Linked DNA regions of Homo sapiens: regions 1, 3, 4 and 5 are each linked to region 2. The links are contacts of gene promoters, found by promoter capture Hi-C in human tissues and cell types (Jung and others, 2019). All regions are on one chromosome and are shown on one strand. Each heading gives the region's core, a stretch centred on a gene start or on the middle of the fragment in contact. The rest is flanking DNA. Distances are from core to core; before and after follow the strand shown.

Region 1 (2,912 bases), core at 111-2,610, 680 kb before region 2:
CACACACCCATACTTTAATACACAGACACCCACACCCTAACACACATACCACACCCTAAAACACAAACACACCCTAACACACACGCATACAGACCATACACACCCGTCTAAAACACACATACACACATCTTAACACACATCCTGTCTAGAACACACACCCATACTTTTAACACATAGTCTAGGACACACACACCCTGTTTAAAACACACATACATACCTTAACACACATCCTGTCCAAAACACACACCCATACTTTAACACACAGTCTAAGACACACACACCCTAACACATACCACACCCTAAAACACACAAACACACCTTCACACACACACACACACACACAGACCATAACACACACACCTGTCTAAAACACACATACACACCTTAACACACACACACTCTGTCTAAAACACACACCCATATCTTAATACAGTCTAAAACACACACACTGTCTAAAACACACACCCTAACACACACATACCCTAACACACACGCTCTAAAACACACCCTGACACACACACCCTGTCTAAACACACACCCTAACACATACACCGTCTCACACACACACACCCTGTCTAAAACACACACACACCACCTAACACACACACCCTGTCTCACACACACCCTATCTAAAACACACACACCCTAACACACACACCCTGTCTCTCACACACACACCCTGTCTAAAACACACACACACCCTAACACATACACATTGTGTCTAAAACACACACACGCACCCTAACACACACACCCTGTCTAAAACACACACCCCATCACACGCACACACCCTAACACACATACACCCTGATTCACACACATACAACCTGTCTAAAACACACACCCTAACACACACTCTAACACACACATACACACAGACACTTTGTGGTATTCCTGAGACATTCAACCACTGCAGAGCATTATTTAAATGCCATAAAAATGCATCTTTATGGATCATTTCTATATTAAAATATAATAATCTTGGCGGCCACAATAGTTAAAATAAACAGATTCAAGATCAAATAAAGTTAGAGCAGAACATGAGGACTGGAAGCAATCCCAGAGGAGAGCCTTCTCCCTGGACTCACAGGGTTAACACTCAACAGTGGTCTGAAGCAACTGTATTACCATGAACTCACTCATCACCAAGTCATTGTGGACAGAGACTTTTTAGCTGCTTTTATGTGGATGGGGGTAGCTCAGACTGAACAGAATATTAAGAAATCATAGAATGGCCCAAATGAACACACTGATCTTAAGTTACACACGTTTCCCACAAAATCCTTTTTTTTTGTTTTGAGACAACAGTCTTGCTCTGTCGGCCAGGCTACAGTGCAGTGGCACCATCTCGGCTCACTGCAACCTCACCTCCCGGATTCAAGCGATTCTCCTGCCTCAGCCTCCCGAGTAGCTGGGACTACAGGCGCGTGCCACCACGCCTGGCTAATTTTTGTGTTTTTAGTAGAGACGGGGTTTGACCATGCTGACCAGGCTGATCGCGAACTCCTGACCTCAAATGATCTGCCCACCTCGGCCTCTCAAAGCACGAGGATTACAGGTTTGAGCCACCGCACCCGGCCACTTATTTTGTTTTGAACTAAACATTATCCGTACCTCGCACCAAGATTCCAGGAGCGAGAGGATGCTCAAGTTACCGACCACTGCCTGCTCAACCAGCTTCCTATCGAGAGCATCATCCCGGTGACCATAGACACGTCCCAGCAAATCCACGTCCCAGCAAATGCACTGCTTCCTATCGAGAGCATCATCCCGGTGACCACAGACACGTCCCAGCAAATCCACTGCTTCCTATCGAGAGCATCATCCCGGTGACCACAGACACGTCCCAGCAAATCCACTGCTTCCTATCGAGAGCATCATCCCGGTGACCACAGACACGTCCCAGCAAATCCACGTCCCAGCAAATGCACTGCTTCCTATCGAGAGCACCATCCCGCTGACCACAGACACGTCCCAGCAAATCCACGTCCCAGCAAATGCACTGCTTCCTATCGAGAGCACCATCCCGCTGACCACAGACACGTCCCAGCAAATCCACGTCCCAGCAAATCCACTGCGGGGCTCCTTGACACTGAGAACTTTTCTGGGCAAGACTTTCTCTAGGCACGAACATTCCGGAAGGGAAAGTAAATGACACTGGAGGGACGGGGTAGTGTTAAGTGGGTGGCCAAGTAACAACGTCTGCCTTTCCTGCTGGCCAGTCAAGTCACCAGTATCCTAAGCCCTTAACCACAAGGAAAGACAAGGACAGTTACTTGGAGAACTGTCCTTGGAGGAAAACAAGGGAATGGGAGAAAAAAAAGGAGGCGTAGCTTGTCCTGCCAGCAGGCCCCCGTGGGCTTTCCGTCCACACTCCCGGTTTCATGCCAGGGACTCTGGCTTCAAGGCAGAGGCTCTGTGTCCTGACAAACGCATCCTGCCCTGCCACAGCGCATCCCCTCAGGGAGGGTGTGGAGGGCTGGCCGGGCAAGGGGCGTAAGGCTCCAGGGCCTCCTTTCAAAGGAGAGCCCTTCCAGGCTAAGTCAATCCAGGTTCTTCCCTCAGGCCGCTCACATCATTAGAAATCGTTCTTTAGAGCAATAAAATCCCAACAGTTAAGCAGCTTTGACGTCAGAGAACCAGGGCCTGGCTCTGGCAAAGTTCAGCGGGAACAGCAATAAAACCGTAACACAAAACTCACCCAGCAGCAGAGGACTTTCACAGAACACAGGAGAGGAAAGCCACACACACTGCACTAGAAGGGCACTTCATCAGCAGGGCAAAGCCAAGTCACATGACAAATGTGAGAGGGGGCCCATGGGCGGCTGGACTCCCCCAGCCCGGCCTGCCCAGGGAGTGAGGGCGGCACGGGCACCCACACCAGGCCACACAGGAGCAGGGCCCCCATGCCA
Region 2 (3,059 bases), core at 535-3,034:
CTGTGTTGTATGGATGGAGGGTGTGATATTGATAGATACGTAGATCAATTTAACAGAACAGAGGATCCAGAAATAAGCCAGCACAAATATTCTCAACTGACGCAGTAGTGCACCACACAATGACATTTGGTGAATGATGAACTGAACGGCACATAAGATGGTGGTCCCATAAGATTATGACATTATATTTTGACTTACCTTATCTGTGTTTAGATGCATAAATTATGGATGAGCACAGTGGCTCACACCTGCTGGGACAGGTGGGACAGGGTTTCACCCAGCATAATGTATTATGTATATATAATACACAATACAGTATATGCATTATCCCAGTATATGTATTATCCCAGTATGAATGTATTATGCATTGTGTATTATACAGTATAAATGTATTATTTATTATGAATATTGGATAGCAATGAGAATGCATGAATTATTGTTACATGCAAAAACATCAAGGATTCACTCAAGCAACACGGTGAATGAAAGAAGCTGAACATAACAGGGCACATACTTTATGTGTAAGCCCCTCAGAAACACCAATGCTAGCATCTGGTTTTGGAAGTCAGGACAGTGCTTTTTGTGGAGAAGGGTTAATGACTGGGAGAGGGCGTGAAGGCAGCTTCTAGTTCTTGATCTGGGAGCTGGTTCCATGAGCACAGTCCTTTTGTGAAAACATATGCAGACGAAGGCTTGTTACTTGTGCACAGTTGTGTAGGTTTGTTAAATTTCACTTAGTTCTGTAGGTTTGTTAAATTTAACTTAAAAATTAATTTAAAGAGCACAAAGTGCCACATACAATGTTGTTTCATCACTACAGATTTTACTCTAGGACATTTAGTTGTCTTAGTGTGAAGTTTGACCCAAGCCCAAGGCCTTTTTCAAGGCGTCCTTAAATTCCTTGTTCCTCAGGCAGTAAATCAAAGGGTTAATTATTGGCGTGACAACAGTGTACACGGCAGAGATGAGCTTGTTGGAGCTCTGGGAATCAATGGCTTGGGGCCGGACATACATGAAAAGCAAGGCTGTATAGAAGACGGTGACCACGGTGAGGTGAGAGGCGCAGGTAGAGAAGGCTCTCCAGCAGCCGGTGGCCGAGGGGATGCGCAGGACAGCCAGGGTGATGTGCCAATATGACAGTATGGTGGCCAGGAGCGGAAACACCAGGATGATGAAGGCCAGGATGAAATCCACCAGCTCTGCAGTGGAGAAGTCCGTGCAGGCCAGCTTGAGGATGGGGGAAATGTCACAGAAGAAGTGGTTCAAGACGTTGGAGCCACAGAACGTGACGCTGGAGATAAAACAGACCTTGATCATGGAGATGGTGAAGCCACTCACAAAGGAGAAGCCCACCAGCTGGAGGCACAGCCCCGGGGTCACAAGGACGTGGTAGCGCAGCGGGTGGCAGATGGCCACGTAGCGGTCGTAGGCCATGGAGGCCAGAAGCACACACTCGGTGCACACCAGGGAGCTGAAGAAGTAGAGCTGCGTCATGCACCCGACGAAAGAGATGCGTTTCTGCTGGAGGAGGAAGCCCTCCAGCATCTTGGGGGTGATGTCAGACACGTACCAGATCTCCAGGAAAGACATGGAGCTCAGAAAGTAGTACATGGGCCTGTGGAGGGAGGTGCTGCTCCAGACGATGAGGATGATGGCCAGGTTCTCCACCAGGACAAAGAGGTAGGTGAGCAGGAAGAGGAGGAAGAGCAGGTACTGCAGCCCTGGGGCCGTGGGGAGGCCCACCAGGATGAAGGTGCTGACCTTGGTGACATTCTCCCCACTCATGCCTCTGTGCTTGGGAGCTGCAGGCCTACAAAACATCAAAGAGCAAGAGGAAAGGGCTGCAGGGCAGCTGAGGCAGAGAGAGAGTGGAGCTGGACTTGGATGGGGAGTTTTGGTGCAAAGAGAGGCCACGTGGCTCCCCAGAGCACCAGGAGAGAGCAGTGATCTGCTGATCTTCTGAGTTTTAAAGTAGAAAACTTCTGTGTGCTTGCATTTACATATAACCATGAAGTAGGAATGAGGAAGAGAGTATATGCTGAGGAACAGAGCCGGGCAGCTCCAGGGTGGGCAAAACCCAAAGCTCTGAGTCCAGGGGCACTACCAGTCCACACGTGCCTGGGGCAGCTCTCAAGATCCAAGTGGGCATGGACACAGAGCTGGCCCTCCTTAGGGTCCTTCATCTGAGGGTTCCTGCAAGTCGGGGCAGCAGCCTCGGCATGAGGTGAGGGGCTATCAGCCTACCAGGGCAGAACCCCAAACTGGGCTAACCAGCCGGAGGAATGCAGGGAGGGCTCCCAGGAAAGGGCTGCCTGGCTCTGGGGGACCTGGTCCACAGGTGGGGGAGAGAGAGGGTAGCCACAGCCCCTTGCCCCACAGGGCATCTGGTGGTTCTTTTCATTGGCAGTCTAGGTGGGTTGAATGGCAGACTTCCACCAGCTCACAGCTGGGGAGGGTGACCCCAGGTTTCTGGCCCAGGATGCTAAAAATTGATGAGAAGACTAGGAGAGGGCCAGGTGGGTGCCGAATAATCTGGAGTCTGTGCTGGGGAGGCGTGGTGCGCGGCACTTACTGGAGAGCCTCATGGTGACGTGTAGGGGGTTGGCTAGACAAGTCGAGTTCATGGAAGAGTTGCAGGCTGAAAAACAAACTTCTAGAAGGGAATTGCCCAGGGACAGGTTTACACTTGGAAACGCACCTGTACTCCTGCCGTCTAGGGTGAGCATTCTGTGGGAACCCAAGATCATCCACTGGGGCGGCATGGCCATTCCCTGCCTTAAAATGCCAGCGTGCAGTTCAGAGTTTAGGATCAATTTCACAAGCATTTACTACTCACTCCAGTCACCGCCTACTGTCTCCCCAAAACAAAAGCAATAAGAACCCCTGCCATTAAAGGGGTCTCAAGATGTGAGTCTGAATGTAGCCTCTCTAGACACCATCCAGGGTGGTGACTGTGTCCTCTTCCCAGCTGAGTGGCCACAGGGGGCTTTAAAGTCCACAAGGAGGAAAGTTGGGGTCCACAGGAGCTCCTTGGAAGGCCAGCAGCCCCCACCTGTTGA
Region 3 (2,977 bases), core at 57-2,556, 590 kb before region 2:
TGCAGCTGTGAAAACACCCTCAGGGGTCAGCCCCCCCACCTCCCTGCCCCCCAAGGCTCTGTTAACCGCAATGGGGATGTGGTCTCCTTGATACGGGTTCGTGCCACGGTTCTAGGGCAGCAGGGAGGGAGGGAGGCCGGTGTTTACTGCTCTTCCTTGGGAGAGACCGAGGTGGAAACATGACGGAGAAGCGTAAAACCTGGAGAGATTTCTACGTCCTCCAGTGGGTCATTGAATGTTCTCAGGCTTCAGTGACAGCCCTTCCCTTTCATTTTTCTAAACGCGAGTGCATTCGTAGCGGCACTGAGAAGCTGAGATGTCTGATGCTGACTCCTGCTCGCAGGAAGAGATGGCTCTTTTGTTTCATACATTTGCAGCACGGCCCTCGTAAGAGCGGGCCTTTACTGGAAAACTGGACACATGTCATCTGGGGCTGTGAACACATATCCATAGTAAGTTGAAATCCAAAGGAGACCTTGGATCGTTGCATTTTGGTTCAGAACATCTGGAAGGCTCCACTGCTAAATTTTCTAAACTATAAACTGCCATGACATGGAGCCTCATCATAGCCTCAGCCAGTTCCCCAGGATTACACTCTGGGAGGGCAGAGTGTAATTTGCAGAGCATCTCCACATGCATCTTTTCTCTCAGTCCCCTGGGTGCTGGGGGAGGGATTTGTTGTGGCCGGCATGATCCTATTTTACACAGGAAGAAACAGACACCCAGAGGGTTTTTGGAAATGCCCAAGAACCCTCATTTCTGCAAGTCAAATTTCACCCCAGATACAAAGAGGCACCTCATGGTGACAGGGAAAAGCATCTAAAGAGAATTTCCTTCTTGTTCCTGGGCGTGAGTGTGAAAATGGGTTCTGCTAGCTTTTGTGCACGTCTGTGGTTATTTTAATGAATAGCTGTGTAAACATTATTCTTTTTGCAATTTTCTTCAGCAAGTTGTGACTGCAGGCTCCCTCTTCCCTGATGCCCAGAGGGAGCACAGTTCGATTTAAGGACCGGGCAAATGGATGTCATCCGTGTACTCCACCCATTCCTGCCCCAAAAGGCCAACTTTCCGTTGACCATTATTTTGGATTATCTGAGTTTTGGCGCTTCTCTGGCAAGTCACTGTGTATCTCTGAGCCTCAGGCTCCCCTCTGTGCACAGGGAGAGTGCCAGGAGGGTCCTTGCCCCCAGGGCATGGGGATTAAATGAGCTACTGCACACGCAGTGCTCACCTCAGTTCCCGGCACATTTGTGTTATGAGATGGAGTGCACAGAAACAAAGGAGTAAAGATGGAGAGGCCCAGGAGACAGAAGGCAGCACAGCTGCCTGAGTGAGGCTAAACATGAGCCCCGGCAGGCAGCGTGGGCACAGAGAGAGCACGAGACAGGACGCTCCATACCCAAATCAAGGCTCCAAAGCTTTGGGTCAGAGGCATCTTGCCCTGGAGCCAGAGGTTGCTGGCAAATGTTTATCAACCAGTTGTGTGGGGTGGGGGTGGGGGACGCTTTCATCTGTAGCATCTGCCCATGTCTCTGGTGTAAATATTCCCATTGTAGCAGATGTCAAGCTACTGATATGATGCCACTGAAAGCAGAGATGGGAAGATGCATTGTCAGCTTTTGGGAACCCAAGTGAACTCCATGACAGCACTGAAAAGGCATCTGACACCAGAGCTGGGCCCAGGGTAGAGTCCACTAAGCCTTCACAGTCCTCATCTCACATGATCCCCTCAATAGCCCACACATGAGGGGCTCCTGGGCAAGGGAACAAGCGGGCTCCAGCACACCACTGCCTAGAGTGCATCATGGTTTGAATGCTGGATGTGAACAGAGAGGGAAGTGGCTTTTCTTTCACCTGCCTCCTGGGTCACAGCAGCTCCAGGCACTGGCAGATGCAATCACGGCATCATGGCGTGGAAGGTGCTATAGAAACCATTTTGTTTCATCTCTCGGTCAAAGCAGGGATCTCTTTTCAAAGAGACACTCTTGGGAGGTGGTCCCCCAGCTCTCTGCCTTCCACAGGACCCTGGCATTGCTGGGCAGTTTGATTCCTTGGAGAAGTGTCTCTGTATTGAGCTGAAGTCAGTCTCTTGTCGCTTCCACCTTCCACCACGGCTTGGTCATCGGCGGTTCCTCCTGCATCTCCTGTGTGAACACCAGCCTGTGTCTGACCCCAGCTCTCATGGGCCCAGGTTTTCTCTCTTCCCGCTCAACTTGGCCAGTCCTAGTCAAGAGCCATGGCCCCCAGTTCTTTCCTGTTGGAGCTTCAGAAGTCTCTTCAGAGCATCATCCTAAGTCAATAAGTGTCCTCAGGACTGAGAAGAAGGTGTCTTTGGGGCACTGTTAATTAACATTTCAAAATCACATTCCCAAATCTAAATGAATTCCTCTACATACACAGATAAACAACCAGGACAACTTTTACAACCCTACAAAAGTGTACTAAAAGAGTATGATTTTTTGTATTAAAAGAGAGCTCTAAGAATTTTCCATAATACAGACCAGCGGCTGCCTCCATCCTGCCCACTCACCCCTTAGCCCTTTGCCTGCTGCCATTTCACCCTTTTGGCGGCCTTGGGACCCTGCCCCTGATGTCCTCTGCCTGACTTTCTGGGCTCCGCTGTTCCAGCTTTTCATTCCCCTTTGCCCTAATTGCAGCCTTTGGCCTAGTATCACCTGCCCAGAGCTCCTTGTTGTCAGGTTCAGCTGCCTTCTTGGTCTGGAGGCCTCTTACTTGCAATTGTTCAAGGCTGTGCCCGAAAGGGAGCTCTTTCAGAAGCTGTCCTTGTTTGCTCCAACCTCCGGCAGCTCTGAGAGCCCTTCTGCACTCACAGGCTACACCACTCTGCTGACTTTCAGGCTACACCACTCCGCTGACTTTCAGGCTACAAGCTGTCCTTGCCGCTTCTCGAGTCGGGACACCCAGAGCTGGCTGAAGATGGGGGGGCAGCACCCTTCCTCTCTGTGTTGCCAAGGCC
Region 4 (3,354 bases), core at 406-2,905, 710 kb before region 2:
ATAAGGTGAACGTGTGTAAATGTTGGAAAAATATTACATTATCCCTGAAGGAGTAGCAGCTTTCAACAATTACCTAACTGGGTCCTTTGTGGGGTTCTCAGAAGTTCTTCCTTTTAGTGACAACCAACTCATGCTGCTTCCTGTCAGAGTACAGGATGCTTTTCTTCTAAGGTCTGACATTTTATAGTTACTTGCTCTGGCCCAGTCAAAGCCCTCCAAAGCCCTGCCATAGAGCACAGAACATCACAGCTCCCGCCCACACCAGGACTTCCCCTAGACACTGGCTTCATCATTCTCAGGGCAGCATCTATCCCTGATGGCACATCCGGTTGTTAAGGGGGAGGGTCTTCACTGCGAGTCGTCCAGGTTCTTGACATGTTGAACAAAGAATTGGACAAAACACACAAACAAAGCAATGAAAGAATGAAGCAACGAAAGCACAGATTTGTTTAAGCGGAAGTACACTCCACAGAGCAGGAGCAAGCTCCAGAGCAAGCTGCTCAAGACTCCCACTTGCAAAATCTTCTGGGGGTTAAGTACCCTTTAGAGGTTTCCTACTGGTTACACCCTATGTAAATGAAGACTTGGCTCATGACCAATCAGAGGCCAAAGTGAAGTTACACCCTATGCGAATGAAGACTTGGCCTGCAACCAATCAGGGGCTGAAGTGAAAGCTCAGCCTGCAACCAATCGGATGCTGAAGTGAAGGCCCCCTGTCTCCAGATCCTATTCTACTGCCTTGCAATGACAAGTTTAGGGGAGTAAAGCCTTACACTTCAGAGCGCAAGCTCACTGGTTAAGAGTCAGTTGCTTGGCACAGCCCCTTGGGCCAGTGACTTCCTTTCTCAATGCCTCTGTTTTCTCATCTGTAAAATACAGATGATGTAAGGTTAGTAGGACCCATCCGTAGGCTGTTGTGGGGATCACAGCTGTAAATATGTAGAAAACACTTAGCAAAGTGCCTGTGCAGGGCAGACTCCATCACTGCCAGCCATATTTACCATTATGTAGTTGTTTATTTACCCATCTACTGTTTGACTTTCCCACTGGCACTGGGTGTGGCAATGGGTGGGGGCTTTTCCTGTGTGGTTCACCAGTAGACCCCAGTGCTTACAGCAGCCTGGCATGTAGCAGATGCTCACAAGAGGTGTCTTGACTGGCTGAGTGCTGGTGTGTGGACGGGAACCAGCCTAAGGAAAGCACTCTTGAGACTCTTCATCCTGCCCGGGTGTGGGTAGCCTGGGTCTGTCACTCGGCCCCACACCCGGGGCCCCACTCCTGGCTTCGATAAGCGACGTCACCAATGTCTGCCCCAGCACCTGGACAGACTCTTGTGGCCCTTCCTTCTCGGGAAGCCCAGAAAGAACTGCAGTGACTGAGACAAACCCAGCGCTGCTGCGGGGTGTGTGGAGGCATCTTGCCATAGTGGGTGGGGTGCACGTGCCACAAACGGCTCACTCTTGATGATGAGGGTGACTCACGCATCCCCTTGTCCCCACAGTTCTGTTTCTTGGACTTTATCCTAACAAAACAATCATGATAAGAACAACCAGCCCCAAACATAAAGACACATGTGCAACAATGCTCGCTGAGGTGTTATTTACTATACAAAAAATTTAAGTCCCATTAACAGAGGATTTTTAAATACTGAAATATTACGGAGCTACAAAAAAATCCCATTGCTGTTCTATCGTGTATGTAATAGGTACAGGTATGGACATGGGGAGACAAAGAGGGAAAGAGAGAAAAAGAGAGAGAGCTCCTGCTTGAGAATCTACAAAATGTCACCTGTGACTTTCTCTGAACTGTGTGCCTCCCAGCTAAATGTGGTCTGGCAGGGTAAAGAGAGCATTTTCCTTTCTTTCATCTTTCAGCATTGTTGGATGTTAAGTAAAGAAAAGACTACATCTTAACTTTTGAAACTGGGGAAGGGGAGTATTTTCCCATTTATTTAATAAACTGCTTTCATCCAACAAAATCAAAGCAATAAATGGGGCAGATCCTCGGAGAGCCTGTGTGTGGAAGGCACTGTGCAGTGCTAGGTGAGAGAGGAGGCGTCTGGGAGCTCAGGCCACGCCCTCCAAGAACCCGCGGCCAACGACTTAGGTGTGTGCGCCTGGAAAGTGCTTCTTCACGTGTGGACATGGGAGAGGTAATGCTGAATTCATGTCTCCGCCCAATCTGGATTTAAGGAGGAAGATGCCGGTGAGAGCTCAAAAAGCATCCCCTGTCACGGGGCCCCGGGGCAGCCAATCACACACACCTGGGGGCCTGCACAGGGAAAAAACGCTGCCACTCAAGCAGGCAGAAGCGCCACAAAAACATTCATTTTTATTTTTTCTAAAAAAAGACAAGAACATCCATTGCTGTTGAAATATTTAACTTAAAAAAGAAACAGTGCAAATTTCAGAATGAAATATATCCTCTATTGCTTCCCCTAGAATCCAGGCCACAGAAAGTGCATCTGAACGGGACCACATGCGCTACGGTATGCACTGATGAAACACTGACAAAGGCTGGTGTAACTTTTAAAATGCGAAGGATTAGCACAATTGAAGGTGTGAAACTAGAAGGCAGCTGAAAAAATTAAAAAGTAACTAACGCACATAAATAAGAAATCTGGGGTCTCTGGAAAATATTTTCAAACATAGAGTACTTGGACAATCCTGAATTTGAAACCCAAATTGGACACGCAAAGGCAAAAATGTAGCCACAATTAGCTGAAAGAAACACAGCCCTGAGCCATCCTACAAGAAAACCAATCCTGCCACAACTCACCAGTGCGAACTTAACATGGAGAAAGAGGTCCTCACCGCACAGTATCCTGAACAGAAAGGCTGGTGAGAGTGAAAATTAAAAGCCAAGAGAACAATAGCAATTTTTAAACTCCTTCAGATAAAGTAAATAAATCCTACTCCCTGTAAAGCCTATTGCCATTATGTGTTTGCTCTCCAGGGGCCAAGCAAAGCCAAAGTGCCTGCGTGGCATGCTGTGGCTTCCTGCTCAGCAGCCCACCCGCTTCAGTGCAGCAGCCAGCACACTCAGGACCCCCAGGCAGATAGCACGCAGGACTCTGACGCAAGTGGTGACAGGATGGTCGGAAGAGCCCCACTCACGAGGCACCACAGCTCACAGCACAACTGGGAACCCACGCTGCAGAAAGCCTGTTCTCTGTCTCCTGTGGAAACCCTGGTCAGTTGTTGTTAAACTCGCCATCCCTTGGAGAGGCCATAACAGAAGGGGGCGTGGGCGAGGTGCTGCTGTAGGGACGCAGCGACAGGGACGGGAGCCAAAGAACAAGAGACTGAATATGGCTGCAGCGCCCTGGCTTAGGAAGAGCAGAGTCTACACCGA
Region 5 (3,271 bases), core at 110-2,609, 610 kb before region 2:
CAAATTTCATCAATTCTGAAACATGCATTTTTTCACATTTTTAACATCTCAGAAATCAAATATGTCTTAAAATTAACTGTGTCATAGTTTCGTGTCGTAGATCAATTGGCAGCACTTTCTGTTTCCTCATAGCACATAAAATAATGGTGCATCTTCTACTTGATGGCATCTCGGATTCAATTAAATGAATACCATATCCATGGATGGAAAAGCTGAAAATTGTAAAAAATGATGATTCTCTTCAATGCATTTTAAAACCTCAATGCAATTTTTGGCAAATCACTTCTGAAAATCATTAAATAGCAAAGAGCTGAGAATAGGCAAGGCAATTTTGATAAATAACACAGTGGTGGAGGGGAGGTGTTTTACCCAAATGTCAAGATCTATTCTAAGCTTTAGGAATTGTGCCACATGGCCTTGGCACAGGAATAGACAAATACAGCGGCATAACAGAACAGGGTCCAGGCAGCAGCACATGTATGTATGGAAACTTGATCTATGACAGAGATTGCATTACGGAGCAGAGGAGAAAGACGACTAAATCATTGATACTTGGACAATGGGTTCTCCATATTAAACAAAAGAAAAATAAAATTACATTTCACATCAAACACATAAACTTGGCAGAAAAATAGTCTATATACGAAAAAGTAAAACTTCAGAGTCTTAGAAGGAAATGGGGTAGGAATAGTTTTATGTCCCATGAAAAGATTTCTTTCATAGCACACAGAAGCCAGAAGCCATGAAGGAAAATATTAATAAATTTGACATCACTGTTCAATATCATTAGCCATTGGGGAAATGCAAATTCAAACCACAATGCGCTGCCACTTCACATCTATCTGCTGGGCTGAAAGAAAACACAGTGGAGACTATGAGGCTGATGGGGATGCAGAACAACTGCAACTCTCACGTCTGGCTGATGGGAATGCAAAGTGGTGCAGCCAATGCAAAAAAAAGGCGTCTTGTTGCGTTGCAGTTTTTTCCCATTGGTAAACATCCACCTACCATATATATGATCCAGTGATATGGTTTGGCTGTGTCCCCACCCAAATCTCATCTTGAATTATACCGCCCACAATTTCCATGTGTTGTGGGAGGGACCCATGGGAGGTAATTGAATCATGGGGGTGGATCTTTCCCATGCTGTTTTTGTGATAGTGAGTAAGTGTCATGAGATCTGATGGTTTTGTTTTTTTGTTTTTTGGTGTTTTTTTCCGTATATGTGTGTGTGACAGAGTTTTGCTCTTGTTGCCCAGGCTGGAGTGCAATGGCACGATCTTGGCTCACCACAACTTCTGCCTCCTGGGTTCAAGCGATTCTCTCAGCCTCCTGAGTAGCTAGGATTACAGGCATGCGCCACCATGCCCAGGTAATTTTGCATTTTTAGTAGAGATGGGGTTTCTCCATGTTGGTCAGGCTGGTCTCAAACTCCCAACCTCAGGTGATCTGCCCACCTCGGCCTCCCAAAGTTTTGGGATTACAGGCATGAGCCACCACACCCGGCCGACCTGATGGTTTTATAAAGGGGAGTTTCCCTGCACAAGCGCCCTTCTTTTGTCTGCTGCCATGTAACACATGCCTTTCACCTTCCGAGATGATTGTGAGGCCTCCCCAGCCACATGCAACTGTGAGTCCATTAAACCTCTTTTTCCTTATAAATTACCCAGTCTTGGATAGGACTAATACACCCAGCAATCCTGTTCCTCAGTATTTACCCTAGAGAAATGAAAACATGTGCTCCACAAAAATCTATATGAAAATGTCTATCATAGTTTTATTCATAATAGCCACAAACTGGAAACAACCCTAAGGTCTTTCAGTGACTGAGTGGATAAACGGAGTGGTCCATCCATGCAACGGAACACTACACAACAAAGAGGAATAAACGATTTTGGATACATATGATAACAAGCACGGACACATGTGGTCATTAACTCTTCTACTTCTCTCTAAGCTTGGAATATTTAACATTGGTATCCAAAATAAAATACACACATACATACATAATAAATGTGGAGGACAGTTCCAAGATCAGAATCTTTCTCTTTCAAGATTGTGTTAGTATTCAAACAGCCAGTGGTTTACCCAGTGCCCACCTTCCACAGTGGTCAAGCAACTCTGACGCCTCCTCTCTTTTCCACTGATGAACTTTCTCACCTCACACAGTTCGTGACCCTCAACAAATTATGTCGAAAGGACAACTTCACTTCTGTGATCTGGAAAAGACAAAAATTCTATGTTATTTCTTTTTTTCTTCTTTTTTTTTTTTTTTTTTTTTTTGAGACAGAGTCTCGCTCTGTCACCCAGCCTGGAGTGCAGGGGTGCAATATCGGTTCACTGCAATTCTCCTGCCTCAGCCTCCCAAGTAGCTGGAATTACAGGCGTGCACCACTACACCTGGCTAATTTTTGTATTTTTGGTAGAGACGGGGTTTCACCATGTTGGCCAGGCTGATCTTGAACTCCTGACCTCGCGTGATCCACCCGCCTTGGTCTCCCAAAGTGCTGGGATTACAGGCGTGAGCCACGGCGCCCGGCCAAATTCTATGTTATTTCTTAATCGTGTTTAGAAGCATTGCCAGTTGCACAATTGAAACTCATAAAATTTCCTTGGGTATCAGTCTTAAGAATTAAATTCTGTGGAGACTATTGAAGTCAATTATTTTTGCATGAAAATCAAATTACATTTTTCACTAACAAGTAGTTTCTAGGACACAAAAGAAATTCCAAACTGTCATAATGAAAATTGGAATAAATGTGTATAAGGGTGGGCAAATAGTTAACGTTACTTTTCAAGTGCACACGATGCTCTAAATTCATTTTGTTGAGGAAGAAGGCACTTAATATGAGAAATCATGTTTCATCAGGATTTCACTTTTAAGTGGAAATATTATTTGTTATTCCTTGACTTTTTTTTAGCGTTAGATGATTAAAAGCCCCGCATGATCATAATTTAAACATCTGAGCAGTGACTGTGTGTGCGGGCACTGAGGCAAGCCCACGGCAACCCTTGCAAGCCCCCTGAGAGGCAGGTGCTCCTGGTATCACATCGTACAAGCACAAGAAGACTTGGGGAAATAAGAAAGAACTTGTATCTATCTTCAATTCACTGCGGAAGCCCTTGCACTTAGCATGCTGCCCAGCAAGTAGTGGGCATTTAGTGAGTAGCTGCTGGGTGAATTATTCCAGGAACATCTATGTAGAGCAGAGCTAGAGAGTCTGGACCCAGGTCTAGCTGAGCCAAAAGTGTGTGCTTTTAATTAGTACCA

The links. Contacts are between HindIII fragments. The study calls those that stand out against the background at their distance.
Region 1: a fragment that was not itself captured here is called in contact with the fragment with the promoter of OR6B2 in region 2 in 1 of the 25 tissues and cell types used here (dorsolateral prefrontal cortex).
Region 3: a contact is called between a fragment that was not itself captured here and the fragment with the promoter of OR6B2 in region 2, in 2 of the 25 tissues and cell types used here (dorsolateral prefrontal cortex and mesenchymal stem cells).
Region 4: a fragment that was not itself captured here is called in contact with the fragment with the promoter of OR6B2 in region 2 in 1 of the 25 tissues and cell types used here (dorsolateral prefrontal cortex).
Region 5: a contact is called between a fragment that was not itself captured here and the fragment with the promoter of OR6B2 in region 2, in 1 of the 25 tissues and cell types used here (dorsolateral prefrontal cortex).

Annotation. Positions count from the first base shown.
Region 1 is chr2:239,346,235-239,349,146 of GRCh38, forward strand. All of the region lies in intron 2 of HDAC4 (histone deacetylase 4), which reads right to left. Among named protein-coding and RNA genes, the nearest start is that of MIR2467, 4.1 kb to the right of the region's middle. The HindIII fragment of the contact is 7,160 bases long and covers 1-2,912 here.
Region 2 is chr2:240,028,645-240,031,703 of GRCh38, forward strand. It overlaps OR6B2 (olfactory receptor family 6 subfamily B member 2), which reads right to left and starts at 1,785. Exons shown (of 1, transcript NM_001005853.1): 1 at 847-1,785. The coding sequence starts at 1,785. The coding sequence ends at 847. The HindIII fragment of the contact is 5,539 bases long and covers 862-3,059 here.
Region 3 is chr2:239,441,271-239,444,247 of GRCh38, forward strand. No RefSeq gene overlaps it. Among named protein-coding and RNA genes, the nearest start is that of HDAC4-AS1, 41 kb to the left of the region's middle. The HindIII fragment of the contact is 3,080 bases long and covers 1-2,846 here.
Region 4 is chr2:239,321,531-239,324,884 of GRCh38, forward strand. The region is part of intron 2 of HDAC4 (histone deacetylase 4); the gene reads right to left. Among named protein-coding and RNA genes, the nearest start is that of MIR4269, 18 kb to the left of the region's middle. The HindIII fragment of the contact is 9,878 bases long and covers 1-3,354 here.
Region 5 is chr2:239,415,370-239,418,640 of GRCh38, forward strand. No RefSeq gene overlaps it. Among named protein-coding and RNA genes, the nearest start is that of HDAC4-AS1, 16 kb to the left of the region's middle. The HindIII fragment of the contact is 3,809 bases long and covers 1-3,264 here.